7 separate regions of the Homo sapiens genome follow, and all the other regions are linked to region 7. The links are contacts of gene promoters, found by promoter capture Hi-C in blood cells and fetal thymus (Javierre and others, 2016). All regions are on one chromosome and are shown on one strand. The core of a region is centred on a gene start or on the middle of the fragment in contact, and the rest is flanking DNA. Distances in the headings are between cores, read along the strand shown. Region 1 overlaps SACS (sacsin molecular chaperone). Region 2 overlaps SACS (sacsin molecular chaperone). Region 3 overlaps SACS (sacsin molecular chaperone). Region 4 has its middle 8.0 kb from the start of LINC00327. Region 5 overlaps SGCG (sarcoglycan gamma). Region 6 overlaps TNFRSF19 (TNF receptor superfamily member 19). Region 7 holds the start of MICU2 (mitochondrial calcium uptake 2).

The links. Contacts are between HindIII fragments. The CHiCAGO score rates a contact against its expected background, and 5 or more counts as called.
Region 1: a contact is called between a fragment that was not itself captured here and the fragment with the promoter of MICU2 in region 7, in 1 of 17 cell types (endothelial precursors). The highest score is 8.5, in endothelial precursors.
Region 2: a contact is called between a fragment that was not itself captured here and the fragment with the promoter of MICU2 in region 7, in 2 of 17 cell types (M0 macrophages and endothelial precursors). The highest score is 9.2, in M0 macrophages.
Region 3: a fragment that was not itself captured here is called in contact with the fragment with the promoter of MICU2 in region 7 in 3 of 17 cell types (total B cells, endothelial precursors and M2 macrophages); the score reaches 7.9 in total B cells.
Region 4: a fragment that was not itself captured here is called in contact with the fragment with the promoter of MICU2 in region 7 in 1 of 17 cell types (M0 macrophages); the score reaches 5.3 in M0 macrophages.
Region 5: a fragment that was not itself captured here is called in contact with the fragment with the promoter of MICU2 in region 7 in 1 of 17 cell types (endothelial precursors); the score reaches 7.5 in endothelial precursors.
Region 6: a contact is called between a fragment that was not itself captured here and the fragment with the promoter of MICU2 in region 7, in 1 of 17 cell types (fetal thymus). The highest score is 5.1, in fetal thymus.

The regions. Positions count from the first base shown.
Region 1 is chr13:23,345,819-23,349,285 of GRCh38, forward strand. All of the region lies in intron 9 of SACS (sacsin molecular chaperone), which reads right to left. Among named protein-coding and RNA genes, the nearest start is that of SACS-AS1, 71 kb to the right of the region's middle. The HindIII fragment of the contact is 3,032 bases long and covers 1-2,856 here.
Region 2 is chr13:23,364,292-23,368,097 of GRCh38, forward strand. SACS (sacsin molecular chaperone) reads right to left here. Exons shown (of 10, transcript NM_014363.6): 6 at 875-986. Among named protein-coding and RNA genes, the nearest start is that of SACS-AS1, 53 kb to the right of the region's middle. The HindIII fragment of the contact is 169 bases long and covers 1,360-1,528 here.
Region 3 is chr13:23,383,044-23,386,660 of GRCh38, forward strand. The region is part of intron 2 of SACS (sacsin molecular chaperone); the gene reads right to left. Among named protein-coding and RNA genes, the nearest start is that of SACS-AS1, 34 kb to the right of the region's middle. RefSeq lists enhancers at 1,067-1,126, 1,147-1,376. The HindIII fragment of the contact is 4,314 bases long and covers 1-3,617 here.
Region 4 is chr13:23,459,828-23,463,158 of GRCh38, forward strand. No RefSeq gene overlaps it. Among named protein-coding and RNA genes, the nearest start is that of LINC00327, 8.0 kb to the right of the region's middle. RefSeq lists enhancers at 798-847, 1,377-1,546. The HindIII fragment of the contact is 5,614 bases long and covers 1-3,331 here.
Region 5 is chr13:23,324,926-23,328,485 of GRCh38, forward strand. SGCG (sarcoglycan gamma) reads left to right here. Exons shown (of 8, transcript NM_000231.3): 8 at 1-237. Among named protein-coding and RNA genes, the nearest start is that of SACS-AS1, 92 kb to the right of the region's middle. The HindIII fragment of the contact is 1,536 bases long and covers 1,493-3,028 here.
Region 6 is chr13:23,576,541-23,580,341 of GRCh38, forward strand. The region is part of intron 1 of TNFRSF19 (TNF receptor superfamily member 19); the gene reads left to right. Among named protein-coding and RNA genes, the nearest start is that of TNFRSF19, 8.0 kb to the left of the region's middle. RefSeq lists silencers at 2,701-3,180, 3,381-3,440. The HindIII fragment of the contact is 3,323 bases long and covers 869-3,801 here.
Region 7 is chr13:21,602,315-21,605,860 of GRCh38, forward strand. MICU2 (mitochondrial calcium uptake 2) reads right to left here and starts at 1,856. Exons shown (of 12, transcript NM_152726.3): 1 at 1,625-1,856. The coding sequence starts at 1,834. RefSeq lists enhancers at 950-1,569, 1,570-2,188, 1,970-2,039 and a silencer at 1,590-1,799. The HindIII fragment of the contact is 1,411 bases long and covers 1,186-2,596 here.

The DNA.
Region 1 (3,467 bases), core at 91-2,590, 1.7 Mb after region 7:
AAGCAAATCTTATATCCTATAAGTTTCCAAATGGAACATGAACTTGGGGAAAATAGGACCACTAGTTGAGTCAAAAATTTTTTATTTATTAAAAAAAAAGGCAGTCAGTAAAATGACACACGAGGCACTGTAAGAACAATCGGCTGACTCTCCCCAATGAGAGCTAGGCTGGCCACCTTCCCTTCCTCTGCACACCCAGGACGGGGGTCCCTGCCGTCACCAACCGTAGCACACTGAGCCAGACTCCAAAACAGAAAGGCTGTGGTCGCCTAACTTCACAGTCACAGATCCCAGAATCTACTTCCCTCTCTGTTCTTTTTGTTTGTTTTTGTTTTTGTGTGTTTTGAGACAGAGTCCCGCTCTGTCGCCCAGGCTGGAGCTCAGTGGCGCGGTCTCAGTTCACTGCAACCTCTGCCGCCCGGGTTCAAGCAGTTTTCTGCCTCAGCCTCCCAAGTAGCTGGGATTAAAGGTGCCTGCCACCACGCCTGGCTAATTTTTTGTATTTTTAGTAGAGACGAGGTTTTACCATCTTGGCCAAGCTGGTCTTGAACTCCTGACCTCGTGACCCACCTGCCTCTGCCTCCCAAAATGCTGGGATTACAGGCGTGAGCCACCGAGCCTGGCCCCCTCTATGCTTTTTAATCGGAATATTTGTGTGCGTCGTATAATAGAGGTGCATTCACTATCAAACTTCCCATTAAATACCACAGCTTAAAATACAGATTCCCACACCATTCTTTGATTAGAGACTAAATGTTCTATGAAGTGAATGTTTCCAAGTCATTTGAATATGGTTTTACCGTGGTATTTGTAATAATAAAAATCTGTATTAGTATGGTTTCCTCTCTCCTTTAATATTATAGTTATTACCACCAGAAAAAAAATTGTTGACATAATTTCTAGCTACTTAGGTAAATGCAAAAACAGAATTCGAAGAGCCAAATGAACAAAAACATCAGGCTTCAAATGAACACAACATTCAGTTATCCTACCTGAATATCCCCAGAGTTGTTGTTGTGCTAGAATACAATTAAATCCATTCTTAGAAGAGGTCAGAATTGTCAGTTTTCACATGATGGCTACAGAAATTATTCTGTATCTTAAGATACTGCTGTCTGTAGAATCTTTACAGATCCTTATGTAAAAGAAAACCCAGAAACAAAACTCCAAACATAGCAGAATACACATCTAAGATTTAAAGCTATATTTCAGTGCAAACTAAATCGAAGTACGTAAGAGTCAGGAGTGTTGGTTCAGAAAGAAAGCAAAGAAAGAATTATGGACTTCATATGCGCAAATTACATTATAGCTGCATAACGTCATTTGATAAGCTACCAGTGAGCTTTTTGCACAGGCTATCATGTTCAGAGATTCTAGATTAAAAAACCTGATTTTTTAAATTTTTAATTTTTAAAAAGTTTTGGAGTACCTACACAAAGTGTACAATTAATTCCAACTTTATAATAAAGAAAAAGAGATTTTATCATCTATTTCCACTGCTTGTCCATGGTAACCAACAATAATTACAAACTTCTAAGAATTGTTCCACGAACATCTATCCCTCCTCTGCTTGAATGAAGCAAGAAACTTTTAATCAACTGGACTGCTACAGTTCTGTGAGATTTCTGTGTATTTGGGTCCCTTAGGCTAACTAAACTAGTAGCTAAGATAGAGAGCAAAGGTGTAACCAAAGAAACTCAATTCTTCTCATCTTAACATCATTCTAATCACTTTAGCAACAGGCACCTTGTTAGTTAGGCAATACTGATTGAGTGCTAGAGATATAGAAATGGACAACTAGACATGGTCCCAGACCTGGCCCTACAGTCTAATGGAGAAGGCAAGTATCAGATAAATTATTACAAATACTTAAACAGGTACCAGTGTGTGAGTGCCATGGAGAACAGAGCATGGAAGCACACATGGGTTGCATGAAAGATGAGCAGAGGTAGTGAATGGAGGAGTTGGCAAGGAAGCCACATGTATCACACCTGAGGGAGGGACAGAACATGCTGTCCTCCAAACAGGAAAAAGCATGGAACTAAGGGAAGGAGATTAAAAATAGCAAATATCAATAGAACCTTCCATGTACCAGGCATCTTCATAACACCCAGAAAATGGAGCCAGCTAATGAAGTGCCTCATAGGAAAGGTTACGGATTTTGGTCTCATCTAATAAATAAGTATGAAAATTTTAAAAATTATAAATAAGACCCGACACCAAGCATCTGTACCACTAAACTGTTCTTGTTTCCTTTTTCTTCATCCAAAATCCATTTACCTGCTCTTCTAACTATTCTCCAATTTCTGATATCCATCCATTTACTTAAGCAACTTAATACAGAAATAATTCAGACCTGGAAATTAAAAAAACAAAAATCATAGCTTCAACTCTGCAACTCAAGCAAGTCATTTAAATCCCTCAATTTCTTTGAGCTTCAATGTCTCAATCTCTCAAATGGAGATACAGGCTCTATTATCTCATGGTTGTAAAGAATAAACAAGATTACAGAAGACACTGATTTGAAGAGAACTATTAACTCACAGACACTAAGAAAGAGATTTGCCTTTTGGCCTCTGCGCCCCATCTCCTCCATGCGGTCCCCACCCAGCCCAGCAGCTGAAGCATCAACTTATCCAGTCAAACTTGGCAAGCAGGCTCTCGGCCAGACCTTGGAAATATAAAAATAAAGATTGCCCTTGCTCTCAAGGATGTTGCAGTGTAGCACAGTAAAAACATGATTCTAATAAAGCAAAGAGGATCATATGGACTATGTACTGGGTTCCAAGAGCAAAAGAGAGGCATTCACCTCAGACTGCAGGGCAGGGGTGAGGCACAGGGCAAGATGTCAAAGAAAGCTTCCTGGAGGTGACACATGAGCTCAGTACTGAATGATGAATAAACATTAGCTGGGCAAAGTAGAGGATGGAAAGAAAGTATTCTAAGCAAAAGGAACACCATGTACAAAAGGGCAGCTATGAGAAAATTTTCATGCAGGAAAAAAAATACTGAGCACCTACACTGAAGTAGGCACTGTGCTAGATGGTGGTAACAAATCTGACAGGTCTCTCTGCTCTCATGAAATATAGGGAGGATTCAAGTTCATCAACCTACAAGTGCTTGTATAATTAGAACAGAAGAGGGCAATTAGAACAGAAGAGGGCGCTTGCATGCACCAAGGCCAGTGAGACAGCACTCCAAAATCATGGAAGTTTACAATCATGGAAAGTCCCCTAGTTCATGCTAGCAGGGCTAGATTTATCCTGATAGATTCAATGTCCACTGGAAAACCTGCAGCAGGAGGGTGACATGATCAGATGAAGCCCAAGCGCTGTAGACAGGGACATCAACTGCAAGAGTCCAGTAACAACATTACGAGAAATTAGAGGACCTGTAATAGGCAGTGGAGTAAGACCAAGGGACTGGCACAGAAAATTTAGTCAACAGATCCTGGAGACTGTGGGGAA
Region 2 (3,806 bases), core at 194-2,693, 1.8 Mb after region 7:
CACATACAGTCATTGACAATGACTTCAGAGGTATACTAAATTGAAGTGATGTGATCTCGGCTCACTACAACCTCCGCCTCCCGAGTTCAAGCGATTCTCCGGCCTCAGCCTCCTGAGTAGCTGGGATTACAGGCGTCTGCCACCACGCCCAGCTAATTTTTATATTTTTAGTAGAGACGGGGTTTTGCCACGTTCGCCAGGCTGGTCCCAAACTCCTGACCTCAGGTGATCTGCCCACCTCAGCCTCCCAAAGTGCTAGGATTACAGGCGTGAGCCACCGCACCCAGCCAGAGGTATACTACAATTTATGAACATTCTTTTTGACACCAAAGCTCCCCGGAGTAGAAGTGAGATATTAGGAGTCTATTGGTTAGGGTTCTTATTGGATTAATAATTTATTAGTTTATGGCTTTCTTATCATGTTTCCTTTCATTTTCCTTGTTCTCTCCTCTCCTTCAATCTTTCTTCCCACCCAACTTCCAAACAATGTCGAGGGTACTCCTAAAGCGGAAAATACACAAAAGCATGGCCTTTCACAACATCTTTCCAAATGCAGGAAAGTGTTACTATACATAAATGGTGTCCCTTTATCCTACTGATAATATAAAATACAAGTTGTTTGAATAGAATAAGAGGCTTTGGTCATTACATTGCTTGTCATTTTGAGTTTTCAGATTTTATTCTTTGTTCTCTAAAAATACCAACTGGTGGAGACACCTTCCCACCAAAAGCAGAGAAAAACATCTGAAGAAGTGGACATAAACATGCCAAAAAGTACAAATGATAGACTGTTCATTAAACAAAGCATTATTAATCATTAAAAACTGCCTGTTAGTGCATACAATAAAATTTGTTCCTAATTATTGATTCTTACCCTGATATGGCGCCATATCTTTTGACCAAAGAGTCTCTGTTCCGTATTGAGTTTCATCATATAAAAATTTAACTTCTGTCGCCCCAGCATCTTCTGCATTCTGAATTAATTCCTAACCAAAAAATATACCAAAAAATAGTAATTAATAACACAGTAATCTACTGCTCATCTTTGTATTTATCTATAATATTTAAGAAGTTAATATACTTAAATAAAGGAAACCCACTATTTGCAACATTACCTTTAAGATCTGGTGAGGCTACTACTGAAAGTAATTGTTACATAGATGTGACAGTATGGTTGAAAAGTCCTTCTCCAATTATTTGCACTTAAATTTTGTCTTTTAATTTGCTATCACTTAGCAAATTAATCCTGGGCCCTATTTATAACTGTCTCATATTTACAATCTACCCAAAGCTTTTGTTCAAAGGAAATTATTCTATTTCCAAAAGCTGCACATATCGTCCTGTGTGGCAGGTAACTTAAGCTTGAGTGATTGCCAAAAATAGACCTTTTTTATCCTTTGCTTACTAAACTTACCTTTCCACAGAAAAACAATAAAACCAAATAGTAGCAATCTATATATACCCTTCAATTGGCTGCTTTCTTGAGAGCCTGAGATATAAAAATGTCTTTGTCCTGCACTAAACTGAAAGCTTCCAGATGGTCAGGACTGACTCATTCCTTTCATCAAGAAGAAAGCACTACCATTTGTTTGGTGAATGGTGGGTGAGTGGAAGGGTGACCAGCTCCCCGTAATGTAGAAAGGAAAGGGCAAACTGCAAGATTTGCCTCAACAAAATTTCCAATCCTAACAACCCCAATCACTTCTGCACACCTACTAAAATCACGCTGGGCTCCGTTCAGTTTGAAGGGAGCTCCAGAATCTGAATCAAGAATCAGCTCCTAGATCCAACCCCATGATCATCAAAAGAGCTTTTTTACTTCCCCAGAGCCTTGGGATCACTAAATTGGAGGTACAGATGGGCAAAAATTGAAGAGCACTTTAACTGATACTACAACAATGTCAACAGTGATGCCTACATCAGAGTAGAGAGGTGGTACGATGACTACATGAAACAAAATAACTACAAGGAGACTGAGGGAGCAGAAGTGAAAAGTCAGTTCTGAGATTGTGCTCAGTTCACCCAGTGCATCCCAAAGGGCTGGAGTGTGGTACCCACCAGCTGTTCCACCCCAAACATGAACAGCTAAGTCGTGCCTCCTGCAGCCTCATTATCAGCTAGTGATTCTTCCTTGTTACGTAACTAACTATTTCTCATGGGATTTTAATTTTTTAGGCCTCATTCAATCCCAGAGAATCCCTAAAAATTAACAATCTTATTTACATTAGGATATTATAATAATATGAAGGATGGAAATAAGAATTAAATAGGTAGTGAAAAACAATGTTAACTTACAAAATGATAGCACTTTAGATGTTCGACCTTGTTTTCATTCAGGTATCTATTTATTATTTATGTGTACTTTAGGGAGCAGAGAGGCAGAAAACTAAAGATAAAATCTAAGTCCCAGGTTCCACTCATTCTCAAGTTGAATAAAAAATAGGATAGGAAGCTTTTCCCCTAAATTGCAATCCTGAGAGATTGTTTGTAAACTAACTCTGGGAAACAGCAACAATACATTTTGTATTTGGTCTTGGGCAAGCCACTAAGATCTCTGGACCTGTTTCAGCAAACACAAATACCATAGAAGGTGGTGGTGTAGGTCTTGGTGATTTCTAAGACTCCTATTAAATCTAAAACAGTCTAATTCTACCACAACATCCAAGGAACAAAGATTACATTGAACTGGCTACAATACAAATATATCTATAAGCAAAGCAGAAGGCGCGTAGCCCTCAGCTGTTTGCCATAGACCTTTCTCATTTCTCAGCAAGGATCCCACTCGCTCACTTCTAAACAGATGACAACCTACTCCTGTTACCACTATACCTTTATTTTAAATGTATTCTATTCACTTCTTTCTACCCCAAAACCACCTCGTAGCAATACTCTTTCCATCCTCACTTTCCTAATAAGTCAATACAAAAACTGTTTTTGAATTCGCTTTCTGTGAACCACTGGTGCCTATGCTGAAAGATGGACTGCTCCAACAGCCCAGTCTCACCATGATCACTAAAGACACAACAGTCCTCAGTGAGTGCCTACCTGAGCATGACTCTCTTAAATTAAAGAGACCTAGTCCTGATTCCCTCACAGTTTACAATCTAAACTAGAAAATATAACCAGGGCCAAGATACTGAAGGTAATAAACACTAAACAAGCTAATGGGAAGGAAAATGCATAACAACTGGTCTACTTTGACAATTAAGGAAGTTTCTTATTAAACACAAAATCTAATTTTTGCAGTATCTCCCATTATTGCTTTCTTTGATGATTATTGGTTTTTCTTTTTTTGTTGTTTTATTGTTTGTTTGTTTTTTGAGACGGAGTGTGGCTCCTGCTGCCCAGGCTGGAGTGCAGTGGCGCAATCTCGGCTCACTGCAATCTCTGCCTCCGGGTTCAAGCGATTCTCCTGCCTCAGCCTCCTGAGTAGCTAGGATTACAGGCAGCCACCACCATGCCTGGCTAATTTTTGTACTTTTAATAGAGACGGGGTTTCGCCAAGTTGGCCAGGCTGGTCTCGAACTCCTGACTTGAGGTGATCCACCCGCCTCAGCCTCCCAAAGTGCTGGGATTACAGGCATGAGCCACTGCGCCCAGCCTGTTTTTTAAAGAGTATAATCAAACTAAAAAAACATATTACAAAAAGAAATAAGTAAATAAAATAATTATCCTATTAAATAAACCCTCCCAAAATAGCAAACCTCTAAAATCAGGAGTCCAATGGGCATGCATTCAAGCCTCTAATCGTAGAATGTATTTGGCTGGCCGGTTGGCTGGCTGGCTGGTTGGTTGGTTGGTTGGTT
Region 3 (3,617 bases), core at 275-2,774, 1.8 Mb after region 7:
TAATTAAAACTGTGATGTGTATGTTTGGGTTTTAAGCCTTTGTCACTTTTTCAGTTTTCTGAATATTTTCCAATTTTGGTTTAAATAATCTGAAAATATTATAGCTACAAAATTAATATTGCAAGTAATAAACGGTGGTCATTCTCAGAAAACCCTCCACTGACACATCCAATCAGCCACCATGTCGAAGTGTTTGACCACGATAAATATCGTTTGGCTTCATTGCCACCTCCTGTTGGTATTGGCACAGCTCTCTCCTGTCCCTTACTCAGGCCACCACTCAGGGCCCCAGCTGTTCTCACTGCCCCACATCCTTTCTCCTCCAATCAACCCTTCATATTACCATCAAGTTATTGTATAATCGAGTGTGACTAAATCCCTCCCCAGCATCAAGATATTTTTAGTAGTTCAAGTTACCTGCATCGTAATGTCCAAATGTTTCCCAGCCTTGTCTCCATCCCTCCTTCCTGAACAGCCCCAGAGCTCTGCAGGCCTGTTCATGCCTTTGTACTGCTTTTTTTGCACCTTTCTCAGCCCATTCTGTTTCCTCCTGCAGCATCTGGCTCCTCCCTCCATGTTCAATTTTGATGGCCCACCCTTGATAGCCCCATTCAAATGTCACTTCAAAATTGTCTCTCTCCCCCCAACACTGTTTAAGGAAAAACGGCAATAAGTCCAGGACAAACGACGCTTATGTCTCCTTTCTTACTCTCTCTGAATACTTTGTATATCCACCCATCCCAGCTCTTTCCATATTACACAAACCACATATTTACTTGCTAAGTCCCCCTCTGGAGACATTCAAGAGCAGAAAACATGCCTCCATATCCCTTGTTCACACCATCACCCTCTCCCCAACCCCAGTGCCTGGCACAGAACCCAGCAAATGTGTGCACAAATCAGGATGGAGATCAGTAAGAAGGGTCATCGCAAGGTCTTTCTGGGGAGGGTTGGTTAAAAAGCTAGAACTTCAGCCTTAAATCATGTAATGGAAGAATACTGATCTCATACTTAAGTGGTTAAGTGCATGAATGGGGTATTAGAAACACTCCTTCACATTTCAGGAGGTAGCAATAAAAGACATCAGAGATGGGAAGACTCAAATAACATTACTGATTTTCCACCCATCAATCAGTGCTCAGGCAGAAGAGCAGAAGGCTTTCTCTAGCCAAGCCCGTGCAAGGTGACTTCCGCCTTCGTAGACATCTTCAGCATTTAACTTCCACTCATCAGTGACTGCACAGGAATGAAATGCATTTACTCATCAACTATGGAAAGTCCCTCTTGATCATGGCCTCTTGTATGTCACTCTGTGTTCCACATCATTCACTGCCAAATAAGCGAATGTAGTGATGTTCACATGTGTGGCTTGTCATGACCACTCACTATAACCACTTACCATCTCTGTACAAATTTAAATTAGGGGAAGAAAAGGAAGTCCTTCTTAACTTTTCTGTTTTGTGTTCATTTCTTTAATAATTCTCTTATTGGACAGATATTAATAAACTAGTTATTAGAGAAAGTTGTGAGTTGATTTATCCTTTCACAGCAAACTCCAAAACAATTTTTCAAAGCCTAAGGAAGAGATGCACCCATTCACTTTATATTAGTTTGGGAGATGTAATGGTGAAAAAAACAGGGCCCAAGGGGAGTTGGGATTCAGACTGTGGAGGACCAGAGAATGAAGGAATCATTGGCATTCATGCAGGATCTAAAACTTTTTCATTTTTTGGGCCAAAATTTCATTTTTTTGGCACAGGAATACCTCAGAGATATTGAAGATTTGGTTCCAAACCAGTGCAATATAATGAATATCACAATAAAATAAGTCACATAATATTTTGTTTTCCCGGTGCAGATAAAAGTTATGTTTATACACTATACTATAGTCTATTAAGTGTGAAATAGCATTATGTCTTTAAAAATGTACATTCCTGGCCGGGCATGGTGGCTCACGCCTGTAATCCCAGGACTTTGGGAGGCCGAGGTAGGCAGATCACGAGGTCAGGAGATCGAGAACATCCTGGCTAACACGGTGAAACGCCATCTCTACTAAAAATACAAATACAGCCTGGGCGACAGAGGGAGACTCTGTCTCAAAAAAAAAAAAAAGTTTTATCATGAGATTGCCCCAACTCAGTCACATCATCAGGCTCCACTGCTAATTCTAGTTCTTGCTGTTTCCATCACTTCTGTAGTTACTTCCTCCAATGAAATCTTGAACTCCTCAAAGTCATCCACAAGGGTTGGAATCAACTTCTTCCAAACTCCTGTTAATGTTGATATTTTGACCTTCTCCCATGAATCATGGATGTTCTTTTTTTTTTTTTTTTGAGATAGAGTTTTGCTCTTGTTGCCCAGGCTGGAGTGCAAGGGTGTGATCCTGGCTCACTGCAACTTCCGCTTCCTGGGTTCAAGCGATTCTCCTGCCTCAGCCTCCCAAGTAGCTGGGATTACAAGCATGTGCCACCATGCCCGGTAATTTTGTATTTTTAGTAGTGATGAGGTTTCATCATGTTGGTTAGGCTGGTCTCGAATTCCTGACTTCAGCTGATCCACCCGCCTCGGCCACCCAAAGTGCTAGGACTACAGGCATGAGCCACAGCACCTGGCCAATCATGGATGTTCTTAATGGAATCTAGAATGGTGAATCCTTTCCAGGAACTTTTCAATTCATTTTGCCCAGATCCGTCAGAGGAATCACTATCTATGGCAGCTATAGCCTCATAAAATGTATTTCTTAAATAATAAGACTTGAAAGTCAAAATTATTCCTTGATCTGTGGGCTGCAGAATGGATGCTGTGTTAGCAGGCAGGAAACGATATTCATCGCCTTGTACTTCTCCATCAGAGCTCTTGGGCGACCAGGTGCAATGTCAATAAGCAGTAATATTTTGAAAGGAATCTTTCTTTCTGAACAGTTGGTCTCAACAGTGGGCTTAAAATATTCCGTAAACCATGCTGTAAATGGATGTGCTGTCGGCCAGGCTTTGTTGTTCCATTTATAGAGCACATGCAGAGTAGATATAGCATAATGCTTAAGCGCCCTAGGATCCTTGGAATGGTAAATGAACTTGGCTTCAACTTAGTCACCAGCTGCATTAGCCCCTAACAAGAGTCAACTTGTCCTTTGAAGCTAGGCATTTATTTTTCCTCTATAGCTATGAAAGTCCTAGATGGCATCTTCTTCCACCAGAAGACTGTTTCATCTACATTGAAAATCTGTTGCTTAGTGTAGTCACCTTCATCAGTTATGTTAGCTACATCTTCTGGAGAACTTGCTGAAGTTTCCCCATCAGCACATGCTGCTTCACCTTGCACTTTTATGTTATAAAGATGGCTTTATTCCTTAAACCTCATGAACCAACCTCTGGTAGCTTCAAATTCTTCTGCAGCTTCCTCACCTTTCTCAGCTTTCACAGATTTGGAGAGAGTTAGACCTTTGTTTGGGTTAGGCTTTGGCTTAAGGGGATGTTATGGCTGGTTTGATCTTCTATCCAGACCACTCAAATTGATTCCTAATCAGTAATAAGGCTGTTTTGCTTTCTTATAGTTTCTGTATTCACTGGAATAGCACTATTTAATTTCCTTCAAAAACACTTCCTTTGCATTCACAA
Region 4 (3,331 bases), core at 369-2,868, 1.9 Mb after region 7:
CTCTCTCAATTTCCCCTCTCCATCCTTGAACTGGGACATCCATCTTCTCCTGCCCTTGGACATCAGAGCTCCTGGCTCTTGAGCCTTTGGACCCTGGGACATACACTAGCAGAGCCCCCACCCCCGCCCCATTCCCAGGCCTTCACCTTCAGACAGAGCGTTACATCATTGGCTCCCCCAGCTCTCAGGCTATCAGGCACAGACTGATTCACACCACATTTTTCCTGGTTCACCAGCTTGCACATGACAGATAATGGGCCTTTTTGGCCTCCATAATTATATGAGCCAAATCCCCTCTTTTACATATATGTATAGACACACACACACACACACACACACACACACACACACACACACACACATATATCCTATCAGTTCTGTTTCTCTGGAGAACCCTGGATAATACGAACACAATCTCATTTAATCCTCACAGCAAGACTGAGTTATTTATTTACATTATTGCTTCTTTCCAAATGAGGAAATTGAGGCTCAGAGAAGTTGCATGGCTTAGCCAGTCACACAGCTGGTAAGTAGAAATAAGATATAATTTTTCTGATTCAGATTTCAATATTCTTTTTTTAGAACCATTGGTCTAAGGTCTATCCTGTGCAATAATACCAAGCATGTCTAATTCCTCTTTTCTGCAACAGACTTTCATATAGTTGACCACAGATGTCAAGTGTCCCATAAGCATTTCCTATTTCTCACAAATATGCTCTGTTCCTTGCATCAAGAGTCATTTGACAAAGTTTCTACACCCCACAGCACCCTCACCTCTCTTCTAAACAGAGCAGTTAGTTTGAAAACTCGAATATAAAGACAATACTTTAGGTATGGCCAGCCCAGCACTAAGGAGAGCACAACTGTCTTCTTCATCCTCTAGTGTTATACACCCAGTAATTCAGCCTGAGCACATGATGTCCATAGCAATATGTTAAGCTACACATTAGGTGATCGCAGGTCTCACTTTGCCCAGGACAGTCTCCAATATGCCTGTTGTCCTGGCTGAATTGTTAATGATGCTCTTGTTTTACTCTTGAATGTCCTAGTTTGGATGACAATTGCATGGTCTCCTTACCTATTAGGAAACATAGCGTCAACCACTTCCTTCCTACAGTTGCTGTTGCTTAGGCTTGTCTTCTTGGGATAAAATTTGGACATAAGCAACAAAAACAAAAAATCTTAAATGTATCCACCTGCTTGAATCCAGCCTATATTATACTGCACGAATGGTCCCAGTTCTTCCGTGCACTCTGTCCTGCTTAGCTTTGCAGAGCCCTCACTCTGCAGGGTGGTGTCATTCTCCAGCCTTCACCATGGCCATGTGACTTGCTTTGGCCAATGGAAAGTTAAGAGTTATGAGATCATACACCCCTGAACAGTGTTTCCATGACTGGACTTGGATGCATATGCTTCCGCCATCACCATGAGAAGGCTGTGTCTGGGATGGCCGCTGTGCCCTGAGAGGAGGCTGAGAGACACATGGAGCACAGGTGCCCCAGCTCAAGTGCCCCAGCCTAGAGCTGAGATCAGCTGACAATAATGAGTGCTGGTTTAAGCCACTGAGTTGATGGTGGATTTTTTAAGGCATCTATACACAGTCTAGCTGCATACTACTCCAGATTCCCAGGCTTTGGGTATCTGACCCTACCATCCAAGCTACCATCATCCTAAATGTAAAGAGTATGTATGCCATACACATACTCAAGTCCCTTTTAAGCCGTTGAATAGGATAGGGCTGTTCTGTAACCCTCATGGAACAGCTTTCCAAATTCATAATTCAATCAGCAGTCTAACCAGACCAGTTAGTTATAATAAATTAATAATTGCTGACTTTTATTGAGCACTTACTATTTGCAACGCCCTGTCTTAAGCATGTGGTATGAACTATCTCATTTAATCCCCTTCACTCTATGAGTCAGATGATATAATCCCTATTTTATGATGAGCACAATGGTGAACACATGGCCTGAGGAACATACCCAAGTCACACAGCTGTGAGTGCAGCTGGGGTCCTCCCTGACAGCAGCACCTTCAATCCTGGGCACCTCATTCCCACCCATCGAATGCTGACCACATTCCAGGAGAGCCTGGCACATGGCTTTGGGGGAGTTGAGAATCAGTCTCAATTCTTAGTGGGATATCACTCACCGAAAAGCAGTCAGTGTGATATAAATAAAAAGAACATGAGATTTGGAGATAGCCAGACAAATGTGGGTTCACATCTGGGCTCCAGCACTGACCTACGGTTGTCTCCTTAATCTCTCTGAACCACACTTTGCTTGTCACAAAATGAAGGTAAAAATGCTAACTTCACATGGTCGTTTAGACTGTATAAAGCTCCTGGCTTGGAAAATTAGCCAGTTTCAGGAGATATTTGCTCTCCTCCCGGTCTTAGGTAAAAATAGGGTTGGTCCAACATCTTGCCCTGTGGTGTGTGGACGTGCTAAAGACTGCACTCAGGCCCTCCCTTGCTGGCCAGGCCATGTTTTGTGTTTATGAAACTAATTGTTTCACTGACTTGCACTTGTTGCTACTGACTCTTACACTGCATATTCAGGTCATTGCGTATTCCAAAAAAAGAATTCAGTCCTCTCCTTGAGCTAGCTAAGTGAAATGAAAGATAAGGCATTACTTCCTCTGAAAAACAAAATTTGGAAATTGAAAAACAAAACAAAGAAAACATTTTAAAAATTCTAATTAGAAGAGGGAATGGAAACTCATTTTCCAATTTTGGAAACCACTTCGTCATTTTGACACTAAATGTAGAAATGAACTCAACTTTGGAGCATGTAGGACCTCAGATCTCTACCACTGCAGATACTAGTAGCTGCGTTGTGCCCAGATAGCAATATAGGTAATGATTACAATCACAGGCTTTAGACCCAGAGACTCCAAGGAGGCTTATTAGCTGTAGGACCCTGGAATGTTTATACTTCGATTTACTCACTTGTAAGACAGAAATTACAATAATGCCACCTCATCTAATTGCAGTTGGAATGAAAAGAACTGATACTTAGAGAAACCTTAGCCCATAGTAAACTCTCAAAAAAAAAATCTGCTGAATTATCATTACTAATGAGATTTTGTTCAGTTAAATTTCTCTTTTAGAGCACATTTTTTTGATTTATGTAAGCATTACTGTAGCCATCCTAGGCAAAGCTACAAGAAAAACAAGGAACTGAAAATAGAAGGTTACTGGTCTCCCCTTTTAAACATTCCAGTTAAGTACCTTAAAATGCTATCTTAACATTTTTTTTAAACTTTATTCTTTCCACCTTTTCTTCTCTTTCCACTTTTCCTTCCCCTCTCTTAACTTCAAAAGCCTAAC
Region 5 (3,560 bases), core at 1,011-3,510, 1.7 Mb after region 7:
AGCCTTGCTCAGTACTAAAATGCCCCAAAGTTCTATACAGCATTTCCTTTATAGCATTCAAACCTCACATCCTCCCTTCAGTTTAATGCAAGTAAGTCAGGTTTCACAAGAAAATTTTCAAGTTTTGAAGGGAATTTGAGGTTGATCTGGTTTTCAAGATGTAGTTAAAGGAATAAATCACTCAAAATTAAACTTTCTGTATATAGTCAATAAGCAATAAAAACCTCATTTTTCAGAGTTCACAGTTTAAGAGTGTCTTTTTTAATCCTCACAAATCTTTGAGGTAGCTATTATTTTTCCCCAAGTTACTGGTGACAAAGGCTCAGGTAGAACAAGTCACAAGGTCACATGGTAACTACTGAAATTAAACCAAAATGTAACCCTAAATTTACATAGCTCTTTTCACTTTGAAAAAGTTTCATGTGCTGTCTCCAAAACACCCGTCTATGTGATAATTGTACAGCACTTATTTGACAAACAAAGAAACTGAAGCCCAAAGAGGTTTTGTCTCTACCAAGATCAAAGGGCTAGTCTGTGGTACTTGCCTCCACATGATAGACACAAGTCTGGACGTAACTTCATAGAAACAAGACACTCAGAGCTTGTGAACATGTTTAGTGCCAATTGGCTGTGTAAGGTGCTATAGAAATCAAATAGGACACACTGAACCTCTGAAGACAGGTTCGTTTTGTGTAGGCCACCCACTCACTTTGTAAAATGCCCTCTATCACAAAAAGTGGTGCATTTGTTTTTGTTTTACTTATTATAAGAAGAATCTTCAAATAGGTGTAGGGAGACCAACAGCACTGCAACTTTCTAATGATATGACATATTAATAACTATCAATATAAGTTCAAATTCATTTTCCATAGTCTCAGAATCAAGAGAAAGTACAAAAGTGAACTCTATTCCTAATGCTTAGTAAGATGTTCATTTAACAGCATAGCCTGCTCATAACAACTCCCTGATGTTTAAATGGCCAGAATGCATAAACACTTGAAATTGCAAAATAAAAATACAGTGCTTTCCAAGCAGTTAAGAGCAAACTCAACTCAGTGTAATTCACATTTCACAGGCAGTTGGGTGCTTTTACTTATAAATTGATATTTACCTTTTTCCATTTGGTTGAGTCCTGAGTAAACTGCTTTCTTACTGTGACATTCCTATTGTCATAGTAAATGGTTCCTGGTATTTTGTTCCCTGTTTGTGCGAAATATGTCTTCAAGCCCAGCTGATAAAACACGGGATCACTAGATCACTAAACATTTATAAACTAGCTTGGTTCTCATATTATGTGTCCAAAAATTTGTGTGTAGATGATAAAGTGAGGTAAATAAAAATAGTCAAGTAGAAAGTGTGGAGAACAGAACCTTTTGAATAAAAGGTTTAAATTCTATTTTTTTATCCTTAGCTATATGGAATAATGTTGAAAGAAGTTGTTACAGATAAATGCATTCTCCACAATAAGGAATTTATCCTTCATTAGAATCAAAGCTTTTAGATGAGCTGTATTCTAAAATGCATTACATATATCTGTCTTATTAAACATATAAATTTTCATTGAAGGCATACAGTCATGGTTATAAACGTACATCACGGGGTATATAGACTGATACTCCTATAGACTATTGAGTGTTGCTACATTAGGGATCTAAAAATAGCACTCATTTATTTCCCAGTTTATGAACTGACAAGTAGATACAGTCAAAAAGATGAAGATCAAAATCTACTACTATTATGCTTTAATAATAAAGATAGTGGTCCAGGTGCGGTGGCTCACGCCTGTAATCCCAGCACTTTGGCAGGCCGAGGCAGGCAGATCACGAGCTCAGCAGATCGAGACCATCCTGGCTAACACGGTGAAACCCCATCTCTATTAAAAATACAAAAAATTAGCTGGGCGTGGTGGCGGGTGCCTGTAGTCCCAGCTACTCAGGAGGCTGAGGCAGGAGATTTGCTTGAACCCAGGAGGTGGAGGTTGCAATGAGCTGAGATTGTGCCACTGCACTCCAGCCTGGGCAACAGAGTGAGACTCCATCTCAAAAAAATAAATAAATAAAATAAAAAATAATGATAAAGATAGCTGGTTTGCAGCAAAATGGACTTCCTAATAACTTCACAGCTGAATAAAACACAAACCACTCTGGTCACAGGCAGAACTAAAGGCTCCCAACTTCTATAACTGCTACATGAGGAGGATGGACAGATGCCTTCTCTGAAAGCAGTCAAATTCACATTAGAAGAGTCAAGCCATGTGTGTTGGGTTCCCCCCGCCAACCCCCACTAGGTCATCCAAAAACTTCAGTCTGTGCTCCTATGGGAAACAGGGAATGAGGGTAGAAGCTCTTCTGAACGAGCAGAATTTTGTGCACGATGGTTTTCAGATTGTGTCTGCTGATGCAGCTTTGTGTCCCCTTCGATTTGAAACATCGCCTCTTACTTGGCTTTAGCAGTCTTCTTCACATAGTAAATTCCACTTCAAATATGCTTCTATATGCTATTTTCTACCAGCACTATATAAATGTCATCCTTGAGATCTACAAAACATTTAAACTACCAAAAATGTCAACTGGCACCAATGAAAGAAATAAATCCTACTCATCCCAAAATCAGACCTGTGAACAACTCAGACCTGTGAACAACTCCTCTTCATTCTGTTAAATACTATTTTAAGATTTTTCCCAAATCATTTTTGGGCTCTCGGCACTCCCTGCTCCGTTAACGAATTGTATGGTGCAAGTTTTTCACTTGTTTCCTCCCGGAGACTATGAACAATCGAGCCATCCCTCTGGGGATGCCCTGTCCCTGTCCCTGGAGCCTCTGCAGCAAAGACCCTGTTCACGAGTGCAGAAGCTGCTCCATCCCTTTCCTAGACTGCATGCTACTCAGGAGCAGCTGATCCACACAGCAGTAGACAGCTTCCTTTCTCTTTTTAAAAGAAGCAAACTATGGAAGAGGGTGGAGGAAGCGTAAAATAACAAAATAGTTCAGGTCCAAAATTCCTTATCCTCAATTTCAGTATCTAAAAAGCTTGAAAAAGTGAAAATTTTCAAATAAGTCTGCTGTAAACTATTGGTGGCAAAAGCTGATTCAAATTACATAAGGCTATTGATCAGGTCTGTGTATTCAATTTACTGTGAACCCTCATAGCCTTAACTGCAGAAATACTAATGCGTTTGATTACAGGTACAGCCTGTCCCTGGTGGGAGCACTTCATTAAAAAGTTATATATAATTGTATTAACTTTCTAAAATCAAATTATGAGGGGTTTTTTTTTGCCTGGAAAAACACAAAACTCCAACTAGATCAACTATCAAGGCCAAATGAGGTTTTCTGTGTAAATTTTAATATTCAAAAGCAATAAAATCTAAATGCTGAATTGAAGCTTCGAAGTAGCAAGTACTTTAAATAAAGCTGAAGGCACAGAATTCAGGTAGCTCCAGAACAGAGAGCACTCTTAGCCCTCATCTGCCTAACTCTGAAGACTTGTGCCTCAACTATAAAGATGAAGAACTCCTATCTGTCAGTAATAAAGTGTGAATTAGTCCCAGACATGCAGC
Region 6 (3,801 bases), core at 1,280-3,779, 2.0 Mb after region 7:
AGTGTTTGTTCCCTCAGCATCTGAGGGGGACTGCTTTCAGGACACCCTCTTGGATACCAAAATCTGCAAATGCTCAAGTCCCTTACAAAAAATGGTATAAATTTGCATATGCTCTGAATCATCTCTGTATTACTTATAATATCTAATACAATGTCAATGCTGTGTACATAGTTGTTATACCATATTGTTTAGGGAATAATGACAAAATAAAGTGTACATGTTCAGTACAGACACAACCATTCATTTTTTTTCAAATATTTTCAATCTGCAGTTGGTTGAAGCCATGATGTAAAATCCATGGATGTGGAGGGCCAACTGTGTTTAACTTAATGAGTCTCTTTAAAGAATTAGATGAATCTAACAGCTGGAGTCCAGAGGTTCAATGTCCTTTTTCTCACCGTCAATGATCATTTATTGATTGATGCTAGGCATTGTAAGAGGATATATTGCTACTAAGAATGGCTATTTAGTAAGTGCTAGGCATTGGCCTAAGCACTTTAAATACCTTATCTATTAATACTTACCAACCATCAATGAAGCAACTCATTTTACATATGGAGAACCAGAAACTTAGAGAGGTTAAGTAACTTTTCCAAAGTCATGCAACTACTGAATGACAGGTTGGCATTGGGACCAGATTGTCAGATGCCCAAGCCCATTCAGGCTAACAATAGGTTCTCTCTCTGTTGTAAGCTAACAGGCTAACCGGGAAGATCAGTCAAAACACGTAAAATGATTCAAGAACTAATGAACTGAGTAATGTGTTACTACTGTCTCTAAGGACAAAAGGAGGTCAGAGAGAAGAAGAACATTTGGTTGAAGTCAGAGAAGGTAGTTCCTGAGCTGGCAGATTCAATTCCACTCAGAAAGCTTTGGTTGAACATTTATTTGAATGATTGATACTGTCAGAGATACAAATCGGAACAAAATATGCCCCTTCTCTGAAAGTGTTTTTAACTCCTTGAAGAAGAAAGTTAGTACACAGAATCTTATGATACAGGACACAATGGGCAAGTGCTAAATTGCCACAAACCTTGGAGCAAGGAAATACATAGGCTCAGAATTGAGGGAAAACTCGTGAGAGCCGTGGCTTTTGAGCGAGGTGCTGAAACTGGAGTAAGACAAGTAGGTAAAGCTCAGAGGTAAGATGGGAGAGCACGAAGAGGAAGTAGAGAGCAAAGGAAGGGCCACGCGGCGCAGTTTATAAAGCCTGCTCCAGAGGCGAGGCAAGGCTGGAAATAGGTGTAGGGCTGCACCTGGACATCTCGGAATGCTAATCTAAGGAGCGCAGAATCCATTCTTTACAGTGAGGAACCTCCTGTGACTCTTCAGCCTGACAGTAGCAGTGATGAAAGGCGGGAAGCGGGGTTGATGACCGAGGCAGTGCTGTGGTGAGGGGTGGGGAGGGTCTGCATGGTGGTGAAGGAGGTGGTGGGCACCAAGACAAAGAGAGGACGATGGGGGACTGCGTGAGACCTTGCAAAGGAAGATGCAGTAACTCAGCTTAGAAGTGCTGAGTATCCATCGTGTGCTAGGCCCCGGGATATCAAGGAATTAGGAGATGCCCTCGGGAGATCCAGGTGTAGCTGGGGAAGGAAACAGATAAAGAAGTTCAGCGGGATGTGGGAATGAATATGGTAGTGATGTGCACTGAGGGCTGGAGTCTGATCGGGTAGCCGCTGGGAGATGGGACAGGGAAGCACACACTTGCCTTGAGGTTCAAATTAGATAACGTACATCATTTGGAAATCGTTTACCAATAAGTCGTTATTGGGATCTATATTCTGGATGTGTTAGATTTGAAATATACAACCTCTATCAAGGTGTGACATCGGGAATAATATTTTTAACATTGTTCACAAGTACCTAGTATAGTGCTACGCCGTTGGAAGCCTGGGATCACAAGCTGTGCTTTTGGGCAATTAAATACAACAACCTATTCACTCATTCATTCAACAAATACTGATGGAGGGGCTCCAGTGGGCCTTGGGGTATAGACAAGAAACAGGGACTTGGGTCCATCCACACAGTGCAGTTGAGTGGGAAGTCAAAACCAACACGTGAGAAACGGTGGATGCCTTGGTACCAAAGTCATGCACCGTATCTTGGGTGAACGAATAGAACAATACTGCTTGCACTTTTACAGCATTCTACTGGTGGAAAAGTATTTTACAGACGCGATTCTCTTAACCCTTTCAGCAAAACTGCCCAGTGAGTCCCCGGCCCTGGCCCCGCCTCGCACGCGCTGGTGCTACAGCTGTGGTGCAGACGCCCTTCCGCTGCGAGGGTGCGGCCGTCTCGGGGCGAGTGCTTCCCGGCCTGCAGGAGGCGAACTCGGGCTTCCCCGGGAGGCGTCCGTGGGAACGCGCACCTGCGAGTCCCTGCCGGCTGAGGAGCCGAGGTCTGCGACCTCTGCCGACCTGAGCTCAGGCGCAGCAGCGCAGACCTGGCCGCCGTATCCCCTCTGGCTGGGATGCGGGCCCACGCGGGAAAGGCTGAAAGGTGGGGAACACCCCGGCGGAAAGGAACCCTCCCTCTCTGCTCTGAAGGAAAGTTTCCCAACACAGCCATGTTCTTGGTGGTCTCCGGTCCCCCATCCCCAAGCCCCCAGTCAGCCTCACACTCATCCGCTTCAGTAGCCGCGGAGTGGGGGCCTCCAAAGAACCCAGCTGCAGAGCAAGTCCGGCTGACGCAGTGTGCGCTGGGGGCGGGGCTCTGGACGGGGGCGGAGCCACGGCGAGAGCCGCGGTGAGGGCGGGGCCCGGGTGGGCGGTGCCCTGAGCGGGGCTCCTAGTGGGCGGGGCTCTGGGGTGGCGGCCGTTGCCGGGCTACGGGAGAGCGCGGAGCCCTGCGCTGGGAGGTGCACGGTGTGCACGCTGGACTGGACCCCCATGCAACCCCGCGCCCTGCGCCTTAACCAGGACTGCTCCGCGCGCCCCTGAGCCTCGGGCTCCGGCCCGGACCTGCAGCCTCCCAGGTGGCTGGGAAGGTAGGTGCGTCGCTGTCCCCGGCGCGCGGCGTCCCGCGAGGTCTTCAGCCCTCGCCCTGGTGGATCCCCGCTGGGTGGGAGCCGGGAGTGGAGGCGGCCGCCCTAGGGAGGGAGGAGCGCAGGCGGGGGCTGCTCACGGGCGGAGTACTGCGCGGCGAAGGGAACCCCCGAAGGGGCTGACCGGGTCTCGGGGCCGTGACAGGCGGCGAGGCGGTGGGAGGGGAGCGTGTGAATTCACGCCGGGTCCCCGCGGGCGACGCGAGCGACGCGACCTGGACTCCTATCCGGGATATTGTAAATAGATCTGCTTGTGAGGCTCACGACTGGGAGCCTGTCACTCTGCCCAAGCCCGACCCGGCCCCGGCGCCCGCCCGCGTCCTGCGGAGGTCCCCTGAGCCAGCGCGCGGCTGCAGGGGTCTCGGGGCCGCATCCCGGACCAGCGCCAGCGGCGGGAGAGCGTTGTCTGTGAGCGGCCCAGGGTATATTCCTTCTGTGGGAAAGAGTTCCTTAGAGTTCAGCAGGAATTATTAGTATATTGATGAGTAGAGCCTGTGATAGATTTAGAGAGTGAGAAAGCCAGCTCTTACAATGCGTGTAATGCCATCTCATGGGACAGAAATTTGGCTAATATACTCCTGGAGATCAAGTTTGGCGGATCAAAATTCTGTGATCTGTTTTGATGGTAGTGCACTAGTCATCCAGTCTCCGTTCACTATTGTAAGAAACCCATGTCATTTGTTTGCATGTTAATAAAGGACTCAATATGCATACAAAATCATCACCATTGTTCAGTGTTTCTTTTAACTGAAACA
Region 7 (3,546 bases), core at 606-3,105:
GATCGAGACCATCCTGGCTAATACGGTGAAACCCCGTCTCTACTAAAAACACAAAAAATTAGCCGGGCGCGATGGCGGGCGCCTGTAGTCCCAGCTACTCGGGAGGCTGAGGCAGGAGAATGGCGTGAACCCGGGAGGCGGAGCTTGCAGTAAGCCGAGATAGCGCCACTGCAGTCCGGCCTGGGCGACAGAGCGAGACTCCTCTCAAAAAAAACAAAAACAAAAACAAAAAACAAACAAAAAAACCAGGATGAATCTAGGGGAGAGAAACTAATGATGAATACACTGAACTCCTTGGCACAAGATTCACAAAAATGCTATAAAAACACTAGATAATAGATCTTTCCATTATATATGTTTACAATATAATTATAATGTATGTTAATACAAATAAGGAATATCAGTTGCCAATACTTAATTTTAACTCACAAGGCCTTCTTTCCTCTCTTTTTTGTTGTATCTGAATGTTCCTTGAGTTTTTCGCTAGAAAGGCATAATGTAAATCTAAAAAAGAAAATAATAAACTACTACTTTCAATTTTCAAAAAAGCTCATATGTAAAAACTTACTAAGTCTACAAAAATTTTAAAGCACTACTCATTCAAATTTTCAAATGCGTTACAACATCATTTATCCTGAAATAGGGAACTTGAATCTTTTTTTTTTTTTTTTGAGACGGAGTTTCGCTCTTGTAGCTCAGGCTGGAGTGCAATGGCTCGATCTTGGCTCACTGCAACCTCCGCCTCCCGGATTCAAGCGGTTCTCCTACTTCAGCCTCCCGCCACCACACCCAGCTAATTGTTTATATTTTTTAGTAGAGACCGGGGGGGCGGGGCTGGGGTGGGGAGCGGCTTCACCATGTTGGCCAGGCTGGTCTCGAACTCCTGACCTCAGGAGATCCACCCGCCTCGGCCTCCCAAAGCCCTGGGATTAAAGGCGTGTGCCACCGCGCCCGGCGGACTCTTGTCTTTAATAGATGGAGGTTTTAGGAGCAATTTTTGCTTAGAACTTATGGTCCACTAAGATATTAAGGTTTATAATCATGCAATAATGTTCCTTAAAGTTGATAATAAAATCTGGAAATCAACTGGTTAATTTTTGTGGCTGACACATTCGTGACTTAAAAAAGCAATCGACAGAACTTCATCATGCTATACAAAGAAAAGATCGTAAAACTTAGTTGCAAAGCTTAACAAAGGTATATCCCACAGGGGTAACTGGACGCAAACCACCTGCGGATGTGAATGCCACTTCACTGACCAGAGAGGTAGCAAGAGGCGAGGCGCAGTGAGATTCTGAATTAGGAGCCTCGAATTAAGACACGCCCACACTCATCACCACTAAATTAGTGCGGCCAGTTTTGTGGGCCGTGGTGTTCAGCGTCCGCGGGGTTCTCCCAAGGGAGGCAGAATCTCCGGTCACCAGCCTCGAAGGCCCTCGGGGACTCAGGCCGGGGGCCGGTCCAGGAAGGAGCGAGTCCCACCAGTCGCAGGGCGCTCCGATCCGCAGCGGCACCTCCACCCACGGCTCCGGGAGAGCCGCCCAGAGCCAAACCACTCCCCGCCTAAGGGCGTCAGGGGAGGGAGGAGCTTGACTGGGGCTAGCAGAAGGAGTTAGTCCTGTACCTGTGCGGAGACTGTAAAACTGCCATCCCGCGCCGCAACACTGACGCGGCTGTGGTGCCAGGCCGCTCCTGCTCCTGCCAGGGCCGCGCCGGCCACTGCCGCTGCCAAGGGGCCGGGACTCCGCACAGCCTGTCGGCTGACAGCGAGCCCCCGTCGCAGTTTTCCGCCCCAGGCCGCCACCCGCGCGCAGCTACCCGCAGCCGCCGCCATCTTTGCGGAAGCGCAGCTAGGCGGCGCTTCTCTCCCGGCGCCGCCGCCTACCGCTTGGGAACTCTCGCGACATCCGACAGGCTTCCGCCCCGCCTACCGGGCCTGCGCCGTGGGTGCGGTTGCTGAGGCGACGCTCGCAGCCGCAAGAGGTGGCCTTCGGTTCCGGGGCTGCCTTCTAAGGCTGTGGGGATGGGATGACAGGAAGAGTATCAAGACAGTATAATATGACTTCCTAGTCCAAAACAAGATAGTGCCCTCGGTTGTGTGGGCAGGTTTCTCCTTTTCATTTTTTCACCTTGTAAAACTGTGAAACGTTTTTTGAAATAGTCTCTTCTGCATCTGTGTTGTTCATGTCTTCCTATGCTTATAGTCTTGACTGTTCTTTCATTTCTGCTAAAACAACTCTCAGACAAGGCATTCTGTTTATTTCAGTCCCTCACTATTTGCTTATAATGAATTTAAATTCAGTTTCAACAAAAGGTTTGATAGTAGCTCTTATCCTACCTAGAACTAAAAGTCAGAGACAGCAGCACACCAGCCCCATGTCTCTATCATCAGGGACCCAGAGGTTTTCCCCAGTGCAGATTTAGAACGATACCTCCAGTCCTGGCTGTTGCATTGGTGATAAGTGATGTAGCTGAGGCAGACTACTTGGTTTTATTTAACAGCCTCCAATCCTCCATTCTTTGGTCTTCACTTTTCCTGAGTAACTCTTTTTAATAAACTCTTTGTTCAGCCTCTGAAATGTCCCCAGCTATTAGAAGCTTTAGTTGGGCATGCAGTAACGGAGCCAACATCAAAGGGGCCAAGACTCCTAATCACATAATCACTGCTGTCTTGAAGTTTTGCACAAAACAAAACTTCAAGAAACAAAAACAAAAACCTGTCACACGAAATCTAATTTGATCATTCAGTGGAAGTTCCGTGGATCCCTTTGTTATTATCTGCCCTTAATCCTTGCTCCCTTTCTCTTAGCCCGCTTGTCTAAATTAATCTGCAGTCAGAGGTTCCTCACTTTTCCGTCAGCTTCTGGACTTACTTTTCAGTGTGCCTTCCCAGGTAGGAAGTAGAGAGATGAGCCTCACTTCACCGACTTGTGAGCCAGACCTCAAGGTTTGAATCTTAGCTCTACCAGGATGATCACTGTGGTTTGGGGCAAATTATTTAATCTCTCTGAGTCTCCATTTTCTCATTTGTAAATAACTCACGATTTGGTAGATGATCACTGCTATTTGGGGTAAGGTATTTAATCTCTTTGAGTCTCAATTTTTTCATCTGTGAACAACCCTCTTACAGTTTGGGGTGGGGAAGCTAAATGAGATATTTTATATAAAGTGACTAGCCAAATGCCTGGCACATGGTAGGCTCATGACAGATGTGCGTTTACTGTGGTCAAGGTTTGGTTTACTTCTGCCCTGTGAACACAAATGAGCTTGACTGAATGTCCATGATTCCAGATCACTAGCCCATCTTAACCTGAGATTTTCCTGCTTTTTTGTATCTAGCCTGACTTTGTCAACCTCTGGACTGTTTTTCACCTCTGCTAACTCTGGTAGCTTTGGCACATGTCCTGCTTTTCTGGACTATTGACATCTAGCTTGTTTCCTGGTGATAATAGGACTTCCAGGATATTTTGGACACCCTGGATGTCTTACCTTGTAGTTTATTCTTGATTTCCAGAAACCACAGTCTTTACGTGTATACTTCTAACT